Regions from separate parts of the Homo sapiens genome. Here all the other regions are linked to region 1. Evidence: promoter capture Hi-C in 16 types of primary human blood cells and fetal thymus (Javierre and others, 2016). All regions are on one chromosome and are shown on one strand. The core of a region is centred on a gene start or on the middle of the fragment in contact, and the rest is flanking DNA. Distances in the headings are between cores, read along the strand shown.

The links. Contacts are between HindIII fragments. The CHiCAGO score rates a contact against its expected background, and 5 or more counts as called.
Region 2: the fragment with the promoter of BAG5 here is called in contact with the fragment with the promoter of RD3L in region 1 in 8 of 17 cell types (naive CD8 T cells, erythroblasts, non-activated CD4 T cells and 5 more); the score reaches 14.0 in naive CD8 T cells.
Region 3: a contact is called between a fragment that was not itself captured here and the fragment with the promoter of RD3L in region 1, in 1 of 17 cell types (M2 macrophages). The highest score is 6.5, in M2 macrophages.
Region 4: a contact is called between a fragment that was not itself captured here and the fragment with the promoter of RD3L in region 1, in 1 of 17 cell types (M2 macrophages). The highest score is 5.1, in M2 macrophages.

What each region holds. Positions count from the first base shown.
Region 1 is chr14:103,941,068-103,943,924 of GRCh38, reverse strand. It overlaps RD3L (RD3 like), which reads left to right and starts at 1,396. Exons shown (of 3, transcript NM_001257268.2): 1 at 1,396-1,833; 2 at 2,223-2,528; 3 at 2,822-2,857. The coding sequence starts at 2,230. The region is part of intron 1 of TDRD9 (tudor domain containing 9); the gene reads right to left. The HindIII fragment of the contact is 3,550 bases long and covers 1-1,840 here.
Region 2 is chr14:103,561,285-103,564,141 of GRCh38, reverse strand. BAG5 (BAG cochaperone 5) reads left to right here and starts at 1,485. Exons shown (of 2, transcript NM_001015048.3): 1 at 1,485-1,526. It overlaps COA8 (cytochrome c oxidase assembly factor 8), which reads right to left and starts at 1,182. Exons shown (of 5, transcript NM_001370595.2): 1 at 1,018-1,182. The coding sequence starts at 1,140. RefSeq lists a silencer at 1,228-1,877 and enhancers at 2,218-2,267, 2,367-2,857. The HindIII fragment of the contact is 16,544 bases long and covers 1-2,857 here.
Region 3 is chr14:103,587,336-103,590,192 of GRCh38, reverse strand. It overlaps COA8 (cytochrome c oxidase assembly factor 8), which reads right to left. Exons shown (of 5, transcript NM_001370595.2): 4 at 2,829-2,857; 5 at 1-12. Among named protein-coding and RNA genes, the nearest start is that of COA8, 26 kb to the right of the region's middle. RefSeq lists a silencer at 1,499-1,673. The HindIII fragment of the contact is 3,067 bases long and covers 1-2,857 here.
Region 4 is chr14:103,654,192-103,657,048 of GRCh38, reverse strand. It overlaps KLC1 (kinesin light chain 1), which reads right to left. Exons shown (of 17, transcript NM_001394837.1): 2 at 2,224-2,485. The coding sequence starts at 2,484. Among named protein-coding and RNA genes, the nearest start is that of KLC1, 26 kb to the right of the region's middle. The HindIII fragment of the contact is 1,809 bases long and covers 569-2,377 here.

The sequences.
Region 1 (2,857 bases), core at 147-2,646:
AATAATCAGTCCTGACATCTGGCTTTTTCTAACATCTAAGCAACAGGAGCTGTAGGGTGGCCACACACGTCACTCTGGGTCATGCATGACATGCAAGTCTGATGTAAACAACGTCTACTCTTCATGGCTCACTTGAAAGGAAAAGCAACAGAAGAAACAAATACTATAAAAGGGAAAACCACTATGCAGTCGTTTCACAGAGAACTGGGGAGTAAAAGACCTTTTATACTATCTACTCTTTAGCAAAAGACAAACACTTGCATAGGAAATTAGCACAGGCCAGCGCAGTGGCTCATGCCTGTAATCCCAGCACTTTGGGAGGCTGAGGCAGGTGGATTACTTGAGCCCAGTTTACGGACCAGCCTGGGCAACACAGGGAGACCTTATTTCTACAAAAAAAAAAAAAAAAGAAATGTATGTGTGTGTGTATATATGTGTGTATTATATATGTGTGTATATTTATATATACATATATAATACATATACATATGCGTATATATACTTATGTGTATATATACATATATGTACATATATAAAATACATACACATATGTACATATATAAAACATATATGTATGTACATATGTGCGTGTGTATATATTTTTTTAAACTAGCCAGGCATGCCGTAGCATGCACCTGTGGTGGCATGCACCTATGGTCCTGGCTATTCAGGGGGCTGAGGTGGGAGGATCACTTGAGCCCAGGAGGTCGAGGCTACAGTGAGCCGTGATCATGCCACTGCACTACAGCCTGGGTGACACAACGTGACTCTGTCTCAAAAAAAAGAAAGAAAGAAAAAAGAAATAGCACAATAATGACCATTACAAACCAATATGCACCTAAATAGTAAATATAAGTTTTTCATCCTCAGCTCCAAAAAAAAAACACGAAAATGATTTTTCTACGATGAATTATAAGATTTTGTTTAGAATTTTGTATGTTCTTATGCCTCTATTTTTCCCTGACAACCAATTACTGCCTTATTACCATATTTTCAGAGATTATAAAGTATATTTTAAAGTTATCTAGCTGTTTATTATGTCCCCTAGCATTTCAACTTGCTTAAATATACAAATTTAACTATTTTGAAAAAACCAAAATGAATACAAAATGTAACATTTGCTAAATATTTCACAATTATAATTCACATCAGCATTCTTTACCTATTTCACTCAATTACAATGAGTTTTCTCAGAATGTATGTTTTGCAAATAGTCAAGTCTAATCTATTTTTCCTGTTTTCACTAGAGGGGACAGTGACCCGGCTTCCAAATGGCCTGAAAGTTAAGCTGAAGAATAAAAGCAACGTGGCTATTTTTAGAGCTCTACAGGCATAAAAATACAGCACTAAACTGTGACCTACAGCTATGCACAGCAAAGCATCACATCACGCGACAGTCTTCACTCTAGCTCGGAGCGCATCTATGGTGCTTTAGACGACCATTCTTCGTTTCACTACCAAAGACATGTCGGAATGCATTTAGGACCAGCATCTATAGCTGCTGGCATTTTTTTCAAATAGACTGAGCTACATTGAAAAGGCAGACCATTATATAACTTGTGAAGATTAAATAGTCAGTTATTTTTGTCATTTCTTCTAGCTTACTTACAAGGTGAATTAATGAGCATTCTCTCCAAATGAAGACATCACAGCCTCATTCCTAACACAGAAAGTTATTTATTTCAAATACAGTTTCGGTGGGTAAATAAGGTGGCGCATTCCTTCTACAGAGGACACACCTAGGAGAGCAAGATACGTCCCAGTGAAACACAGCTTCGTCACCAACTTCAGTCAACTCTTTGGCAACATCACATCAGCCCATCAACTTAACAGGTAAGCTTTAAACCTTTTCTGTCCAAAACATAAATCAAAAGTATCTGTAGGCAGCACTTGCCCCGACATTAATATTTTAAGTCTCTTAAGAACTTTTCACAGCAAGTGTTAGTGTTATTTTCGGATATCATTCAGTCTATATGTTATCTCTGACTTTGTATATCTAATTTCTGCTAAGCTACATAAAAGCATTTTCAAAGCTTGGTTTCTGCCACTGACCTAGTTAAAAATTAAGACGTTAATCCATGTTCTAATCTTATTTTGACCTGCATAGCTAAATGTGAAAAAAAATCGTGCACTTTTCGGGCAAATTTATTGTAAAGAAACAAATATTTGCTCAGAAGAACATAACATTTTGAGCAAATAAACAAGTGAAAATATTTCCATAGGCTAAAAATGCCACTTTTTGGCTGGATGAAATGGCCCAAAAACGATTCCTACAAACCCACACACTATCCTGGCTCAGACATAGTGACAAAGACTCTGCTTCGGGAATTAAAATGGCACCTAAAGGAGCGAGAGAGATTAATACAAGAAATCGAAAATGAACAAAAAGTGAAAAAAACAGGTGTGGATTACAACTGGCTCAGAAACTACCAGAATCCCCACACAACTATCCCAGTGACTGAACAAAGACAACTTGAAGTTCTTTGCTCACAAGTTCAACCTTGCCAAACTGGAACTATTCTCAGCAGGTAAAAATACTATGTTCTCTTATGATTCCTGCTACTGCTAAGTCCAAGTTCCTCATATATTTTGACTAGAAACTGTATTCTATCATGTAAATTCTTTAACTGTGTAGATGTCTGGTGAGCAATTGTTTTAAATTACATTTAAAATTTCTTTACTAGAAGCATAATTTTAAAACAACATGCAAAATACTCAAAAGGTGGGTAACTTGTATACATTATTCAAGCTGTATTTTGGAGATAAAGAGATATAACAAAAAATGTTCTAAACTGAATATTCATTACCATTTCCCCTCTAGATTTCGAGAAGTTTTGGCAGAAAATGATGTACTGCC
Region 2 (2,857 bases), core at 236-2,735, 380 kb after region 1:
CTCCCTCTGTCGCCAGGCTGGAGTGCAGTGGCGCGATCTCGACTCACAGCAACCTCCGTCTCCCGGGTTCAAGCGATTTTCCTGCCTCATCCTCCCGAGTAGCTGGGTCTACAGGCGCGCGCCACTATGCCCAGCTAATTTCTGTATTTTTAGCAGAGACGTTTCACCATGTTGGGCAGGATGGTCTCACCTCTTGATTTCGTGATCCGCTTGCCTCGGCCTCCCAAAGTGCTGGGATTACAAGCGTGAGCCACGGAGCCCGTCCAATTTTTAATTAACACTTTTTTAATACTTCTTTAATTATTGTTTAAACCAAGTTTTCCAGCCTCCTTCATTAGCCTGTTTGGTATTTGCATGCTTTGCTTGAATATTTTATCTCCAGCCCATTCCACACCGTTAGTCAACATTTTCATCTGACAGACGGAATCAAGGCCTAGGCCTCCCTTAAACAAAACATCCCTCCCAAAAGTACCACTTATAAAAATTGCTTGCCACAGACATTCTTGCTACAGACATTCTTTGCGGATCTTTGGCCAGTAACATGCATATACCCACACATAGTTTGCAAATAACAACTATTCAACGTGAAGTGCTACAAAAGTACGATGATAAAGTGCTCGCCGCTTGAAGAAAAGCACTAATAATTGTAACAAAGCCAAAACACACACACACACAACGAAAAAAAACGCACGGTAAGCCAAGAGCTCTTTAAAAATAAAAAATAATCATTCTCGGGAACAAATAAGGTAGGTACAAACTTGCCAGGTGACTCTGTTACGCTTAAAGGTTCTGGCTGTCAACAGTCCCCGGCGTGGTGGCGGCGGCACCCTCAGTCCCATCCGACTGAGGGCGTTGATGCGGGAGCCTCGGGGCTGCGGGACTGTTCGGGATAGGACGCGAGAGCACCTGGACAAAGGCCTGAGGCGGCTGTGCAGAACAGGGAGTGGCCCCGAGGCCCGGGTTTGTCTTCCCTTCCGGTCACCCCTCCCGGCCCAATGTCCCCAGGCCCCTGCTTACCCCGCTGGGCGCCGTATCCCTGCGCTCGGCGCCGCGCTCCGGAGCGAGTTGACAGCCGCGGCAGGCGAAGGCGCGGCAGAGAGGGGGGAGAAAGGTCTTCTTCCCCGCCCGCAAGACCACCATGGCCCCACGCCCCCTGGCTCCCGCGGCGCACGGCAGCATTGCGACGGCGCGAGGGGCCGCTTTACGGCAGGGTCGCGAAGCCCGAGGAAGCGCGGCGGCGCGGCCGACCGTGCGCTTTCCCAGCGGTGCGACGGGGTGAGGGGGCGGCGGGCGGCGCGGGCTGACCCGGGCGGCCGCTCCTTGGTCGCGGTCACTCCAGGCTGCCTCGCTGCGCCGCTGGCGGTGGGCGTGGCGCTGCCGGCGGCTAGGCGCGGACGCCGGAGGAGGTGTCCCCGGGTTTAGGGGTGTTCGGCCAGGGGCGGGGCTGCCGGGCCCGGGCGACTGCCGGAGCTGCGGAAGTCGTGGAAGCGTCGGCGACGCATCGCGCGATGGCGCGGGCGGGACAGGTGAGCGAAGCGCGGCTTGTAGCCTTTTCCCTCTCTCGGGGGGACGAGTGGGGCACCACCTCCGCGCGGGGCTCCCCGCTGGGCCACCCCTTCGCCAGCGCCCAGCCCCGTGCGGCCTGTCGGATCAGGCAGGGCAGAGTCGGTCTCGGCGCTGTCCCCGCCCCTGGGGTCGGAAGCGACCGGGGCTGGCCGGGCCTGGTCTCTGGTGTCTCCGGCCGGGCCTCGGTTCCCCTCCTCCCCCGGCTTCCCCCGGCCGGGCCGAGCTCCCCTCGCGCGCCCATTGTGAGGTCACGTCCTGCAGGCGCGCCCTGGCACCCGGGCCAAGACGCCCGGAGCGGCTGCTGCAGCCAGTAGCGGCCCCTTCACCGGCTGCCCCGCTCAGACCTAGTCGGGAGGGGTGCGAGGCATGCAGCTGGGGGCCCAGCTCCGGTGCCGCACCCCGTAAAGGGCTGATCTTCCACCTCGCCACCTCAGCCACGGGACGCCAAGACCGCATCCAATTCAGACTTCTTTTGGGTAAAGGGCCAAGAGGGAAGGGCGAGGCGGGGAGGAAGCAGCTCGGGCCGCCTTCCCTCCGTGGCCTCCAGGACATCCGCCGGGGATAGATTATGCGTTTCCATTGGTTACCCACCTTGAGCGAGCCGTTTGATAGAAACCAAGAGCTTGAAACGTGCATTAGGCCATTGTGGACTCCCAGTGGGAGGCGAGTGAATGAATTATTCATAGTTACCACGTTTTCGCGGGTTGTTTTTTTTTGAGAGAGTGGAGCATGTTGGGGGCTGAGGAGGTGTTGGGCCTCGAAAGCCCAAGGTGGTGCCCTTCAGCGCTGTCCCGGTCGCTCTTCTTTACCTGTGGGGTTTTAATCTCTTCAGGGAGACTTCTGTGAGGGAAGATGTGTGAGGAGCTAAAAGGGTGGGGAGGGGAAGTGCACAAAGGGATGGAGAGAAACGAAGAAGCGGGGACCTTGGGGATGTCTGAGAGCCACTGGTTTTTGTTCTGGTTCTTTCTTTTGCTTAGAGTTTCTGGAAACTAGGCATAGCTGTGTGGCGGGGCGGGGTACTGTTAGTGTTCGGAAGGTTACAAGAGCTACTGTTTCACCTTTCATAAAGGTGCCCTGCTGGTTCCAAATAGTTTGTGTCGCGTACGGTGACTCACACCTTAATCCCAGCACTTTGGGAGGCGGAGGCGGGCGGATCGTCTGAGACCAGCCTGGGCAATATAGTGAGACCTGTCTCTACTAAAAATAACATTAGCTGGGCGTAGTGGTGTACGACTGTAGACCCAGCTACTGGGGAGGCTGAGGTGGGATGACTGCTCAGAAGTATACCTTT
Region 3 (2,857 bases), core at 226-2,725, 350 kb after region 1:
TTGTACCAATCTCTGTAGAGAAACAGAGGATGCACAGGTGACACGGTGGCAGGGACTGAGGCTTGGTGCCCTGGCCCAGAAGTGGCTCCCAGTTGAGGATGAGTTCAACTGACCAGGCCTCAACTGCTTTGCCCTTTCCCTGCCCTTGTTAAAGCTAAACTATTCATAGAGGCCTGCCTCTCCTCAGGCTGAGAGTGAGGCCCACTGGCGACGCCTGGAGTCCTCTCCAGCCCTGTTTCTGGAGGCCGCCACCATCCTCCTTTGGTGTTTTTTTTTTTTGAGACGGAGTCTCGGTCTGTCGCCCAGGCTGGAGTGCAGTGGCGCGATCTCGGCTGACTGCAAGCTCCGCCTCCCGGGTTCGCGCCATTCTCCTGCCTCAGCCTCCCGAGTAGCTGGGACTACAGGCGCCCGCCACCACACCCGGCTAATTTTTTGTATTTTTTTTTTTTAGTAGAGACAGGGTTTCACCGTGTTAGCCAGGATGGTTTCGATCTCCTGACCCACCTGCCTCAACCTCCCAAAGTTCTGGGATTACAGGTGTGAGCCACCGCACCCGGCCCCTCCTTTGGAGTTTTTTTTGTTTTGTTTTTTCATCTTGCTTAGTTGTCCAGGCTGGAGTACAGTGGCACAATCTTGGCTCATTGCAACCTCTGCCTCCTGGGTTCAAGTAATTCTTCTGCCTCAGCCTCTTAAGTACTCCTTTGATTTTTGCTAAAAGATCCAAGAGAGCCCTTGGAAACCCCAGGCCTGCCGAGCTGGCAGCATTTTAGGGATGTGATGGGCCACGACCACTCTGGAGGCTCTGCATGGCAGGACAGAAAGTTCCTCTCCACCTGCAAACCACCTTTACACCTCCACCTACTTAAGCAATGCTGTCATGAGGAGCAGTGCCCAAAGTAAATAAGCGCTTCCAGGAGAAGAAAACCGGTAGCCCATGGGGATTACAGTTCTTCAAGGAAAAGCCATATTCCATTTCACTAATACAGACGACCTGATTCTATGACATGTAAAAGCAAGCTACACTTCTGCTGTTGCCACAGGGAAGGCAGGGGCAGGAGGTGGTGGTGGGGGCCAGGCTCCTCTAAGGCCTGATCTTGGGTAAGGCTGGTCCTCTTCACCCGAGTGCCACAGAGAAAACATGAAGCCCATCAGAGACTGTGCCCCGTGCAAACAAGCTACGTGTCCAAAGACCAGGGAAAGATTATACTCGCTTGTTTGAATGACTTAACTAATTCAGAGTAATACATGACAACCTTAGAAATGGAATCCAGATATTTCAGGACTAATCTTTAGGTCAGACTGTCCCTCACTGAGTCCATCCAGCCTTTGACTGTATCTATATTCTCTTTTTTTATTAGGGTCTCACTCTGTAGCCCAGGCTGGAGTGCAGTAGCGGGATCTCGGCTCACTGCAACCTCCACCTCCTGGGCTCAAGGGATCCTCCTGCCTCAGCCTCCTGTAGCTGGGATTACAGGTGCACACTACCACACCAAGCTAATTTTTGTATTTTTTGTAGAGACAGGGTTTTGTCATGTTGTCCAGGCTGGTCTCAAACTCCTGGGCTCAAGCAATCCATCTGCCTTGGCCTCCCAAAGTGCTGGGAGTACAGGTGTGAGCTACCGTGCCTGGCCCATGTCGACATTCTTGAAGTCTGGCTTCACCTGCCCATCAGGCTTTGTAACTCTGGAACTGTTTTATATATATATATATATTTTTTTAATTACTTACTTATTTATTTATTTATTGAGACAGGGTCTTACTCTGTCTGCCATCCAGGCTGGAATGCAGTGGCCGGATCTCGGCTCACTGTAGCCTTAACCTCCCAGGCTCAAGTGGTCCTCCTAGCTCAAGCCTTTCACTATGTTGCCCAGACTGGTCTTGAACTCCTGGACTCAAGTGATCTACCCACCTTGGCCTCCCAAAGTCATGGGATTCCAGGTGCGAGCCACCGTATCCAGCCTACAAATATTTTAAAGCAAATCTCAGATATCATGTCCTATTAATTTCACCTGTAAATACAGGTCATTATTATCTGTAACCAGCTAAAACCCGTTTTTTTTTTTTTTTTTTTTTTTTGAGATGGAGTTTTGTTCTCCTTGCCCAGACTGGAGTGCAATGGCACGATCTCAGCTCACCGCAACCTCCACCTTCCACGTTCAAGCGATTCTCCTGACTGAGCCTCCGGAGCAGCTGGCTAATTTTGTATTTTTAGTAGAGACAGGGTTTCTCCATGTTGGTCAGGCTGGTCTTGAACTCCTGACCTCAGGTGATCTGCCCACCTTGGCCTCCTAAAGTGCTGGGATTACAGGTGTGAACCACCACACCCGACCTAAAAAAATTGGTATCTTTTTAAGCCACTGCAGTCACTTAAAAAATAAAGTTGATAGACGAGGCGCAGTGGCTCATGCCTGTAATCCCAGCACTTTGGGAGGCCAAGGCAGGCGGATCACGAGGTCAGGAGATTGAGACCATCCTGCCTAACACGGTGAAACCCTGTCTCTACTAAAAATACAAAAAATTAGCCAGGCGTGCTGGCGGGTGCCTGTAGTCCCAGCTACTCGGGAGGCTGAGGCAGGAGAATGGCGTGAACCCAGGAGGCGGAGCTTGCAGTGAGCCAAGATGGCGCCACTGCACTCCAGCCTGGGCGAGAGAGCGAAACTCCGTCTCAAAAAAAAAAAAAAAAAGAAAAAAAGAAAAAAAAAAGTTGATAAAGTCTTGCAACTTCTACCTCTGATATAAACATGAATGTTGTTAAATTCAGGTAAGAAAACACTCCTACCTAATCTGGATGTGCTATTCAAATTTTCAGGAAAAGAGTAAACACCTACCTGTTATAATACATGTGCTTCTGAAAATT
Region 4 (2,857 bases), core at 224-2,723, 290 kb after region 1:
CCAAGAGTAAGAATGCACTGGTGCACTCATAAGCTTATGTTTATGTCATAAAATCCAGGGGCCACTCCAGGGCTCTGCCTACAGAGTGCTCACTGGTTTCTGGAACAGACCAGCGTGAGGCTGTGGCAAGTTCCTAGGAGCATAAGAGCACAAACAGCTAGGAGCTGGCTGGCAGCAATCTGTTCTCTCTTTAGAACATACATCTGCCCATCCCTCTCATAACATAATAACCAGGTTATTATCCTCCTAGGTTTAAAACCTGAAACTCCAGAAGGTGGGACCTTTTCTTCCTTCTTTTTTTAAAACTCTTATCTGCGACACCAAAAAAGCAAGTTTAAATTCATGTCACCTGTTCTCAAGGTAACAGAACTTGAGAAATAATACGTTCACAATATCCAAACAGAGCTACAGTTCTGCAACTCAAGGCTGTAACATGGTTAGGATGAAGACTCTAAAATCAGGGTGTGGGCAGTCACTTCCTCTATGAAAGCAGAAACCGCTGGCCAGCAGCCCCTCTTCTGCTCTATTCACTCACTAAACTAGAGAATGCTAAGAAAGAAGCAAAGCTTTGGTATATTTAATTTTACCTAAGATATGCTGACAGAGCCAGAAGTTATCAGGAGAGAGTATTTAAAAACCTAGATGTTTCCAGTGTTTTCATCTCTATGTCAAGCATGATATTATAGAAACAAAGGTTAGTCAAAGATATGAAGCAATCTGGCCCTGGGATTGCAGAGACCATCACCCACTGGCCAGTGTCCATTCTCCTTCCTTAGGCTTAAGGACCTGCCACTGTAAGTGGGAAGACAACATTCCCCAGTCTCCCACTCACCCAGGTACAGCCATAAGGTCTGGCCAATGCAATGTAAGCACTGCTGTACACATCATCAAAGCAGCAGCCTTCAAGGAAGGAGGCACGTCCTTCCTTTCCCTTCCCCTATGCTAGAACAGGGCCACATGGAGCTCACTCTCAGTCCCCAAGACAGGCTGCCAAGGTGCAGTGTGGCAGATGTTAGGAACCTGAGTATCCCCGATGACTGTGTAGCTACAGAACCCGTCCAGGAGAGTGTACCTCAGTACTTATTTGACAAACATCTTGTGGTTTAAGCCACTGTTTTTGTTTTTTTGATACTGGCAGCCAAATCAAATCCTAAATGATACACAGCAGTATCCACTATTTTGGATCCGCTTTTCAAAATTCAGAGAGGCCCTGAGGTCAGGAGTTCAAGACCAGCCTGGCCAACATTTTAGTTTCTACTAAAAATACAAAAAATTAGCCAGGAATGGTGGTATGTGCCTGTAATCCCAGCTACTTGGGAGGCTGAGGCAGGAGAATCACTTGAACCCGGGGGACAGAGGTTGCAGTGATCTGAGATTGAGCCATTGCACTCCAGCCTGGGCGGCGAGAGCAAACACTGTCTCAAAAAAATAAAAATAAAAATAAAATTCAGAGGCCGGGCATGGTGGCTCGCGCCTGTAATCCCAACACTTTGCTGAGGCAGGTGGATCACGTGAGGTTGGGAGTTCAAGACCAGCCTAACCAACATGGAGAAACCCTGTCTCTACTAAAAATACAAAATTAGCCAGGTGTGGTGGCCCATGCCTGTAATCCCAGCTACTTGGGAGGCTGAGGCAGGAGAATCATTTGAGCCCAGGAGGCAGAGGATGCAGTGAGCCGAGACTGCATCACTGCACTCCAGCCTGGGCAGCAAGAGCAAAACTCCATCTCAATCAATCAATCAATACAATTCTGATAGGCCCAAATCAATAGTAATTTATTAACATACAGAACACATGATCTGTTTTGTTTTGTTTTTTCTTTGAGAAAAAGTCTCGCTCTGTCACCCAGGCTGGAGTGCAGTGATGCAATTTTGGCTCCCTGCAACCTCTGCCTCCCAGGTTCAAGTGATTCTCCTGCCTCAAGCCTGCCTAGTAGCTGGATTACACACGCCAGCCACCAGGCCCGGCTAATTTTTGTATTTTTAGTAGAGTCAGGGTTTCGCTATGTTGGCCAGGCTGGTCTCAAACTCCTGACCTCAAGTGATCCACCTGCCTCAGCCTCCCAAAGTGCTTGGATTACAGGCCTGAGCCACACCGCACTCGGCCTGGATCTGTTATTCTATAATCATCTTTCCTCTTCTTTAGTGAAACTGCTTATTTCAAACAAGTCTCCATTTTACCATCAAAAGTTCCTGATAACGTCTGAGTCATTCTCACTCGTACCTGTGCCTCACTCAGGCCGAGCTCCAACATCTCCAGTGACTTCCGGATCATGTTTGATTTCTCCTCCACCAAATTACTTTCATCATCTTTCTTCAAACACTTCAGTGTCTCCAGCAAACTTTGTAAAATGGAATTGTGCTCATTCTTCAAAGCTTCCAGCCCCTGAATTACTTGCTTTGTCTTAGAAATAATTTCATCCTGTGTAAGCTTCTCCAACTTGTCTTCCTTTATGTACACCATTGTGGACATGTTGTCATACATTCTGGAATGAAAAAAGAAAAAGAAATTAGATCCCTCATTACAGGTTTCATTTCTGTTACATCAAGTAAATATGAAAATTTTTTAATTAACATTTTATAGGGGAATAATAAATATGCACATTTGTAATTTATGACCTTGAAATACCATATTCTGCAGTTTCTGTTTTTCCTTTGCAGACACATTTAATTACTTTTCTGGTTTATGTCTTAATTCTTTTTTATGACAGCAACTGAAATTAATGCCAAAGATTAAAAGCAGCAAAACATCTAAATGGCATTTCCAAAACACATAGCCTCGGTGAACAACATTTTTTCTCAGAATGTTTGCAAGCCTTTTTCTCTTCCTAATGAAATGCAGGAAGAACACTACATTC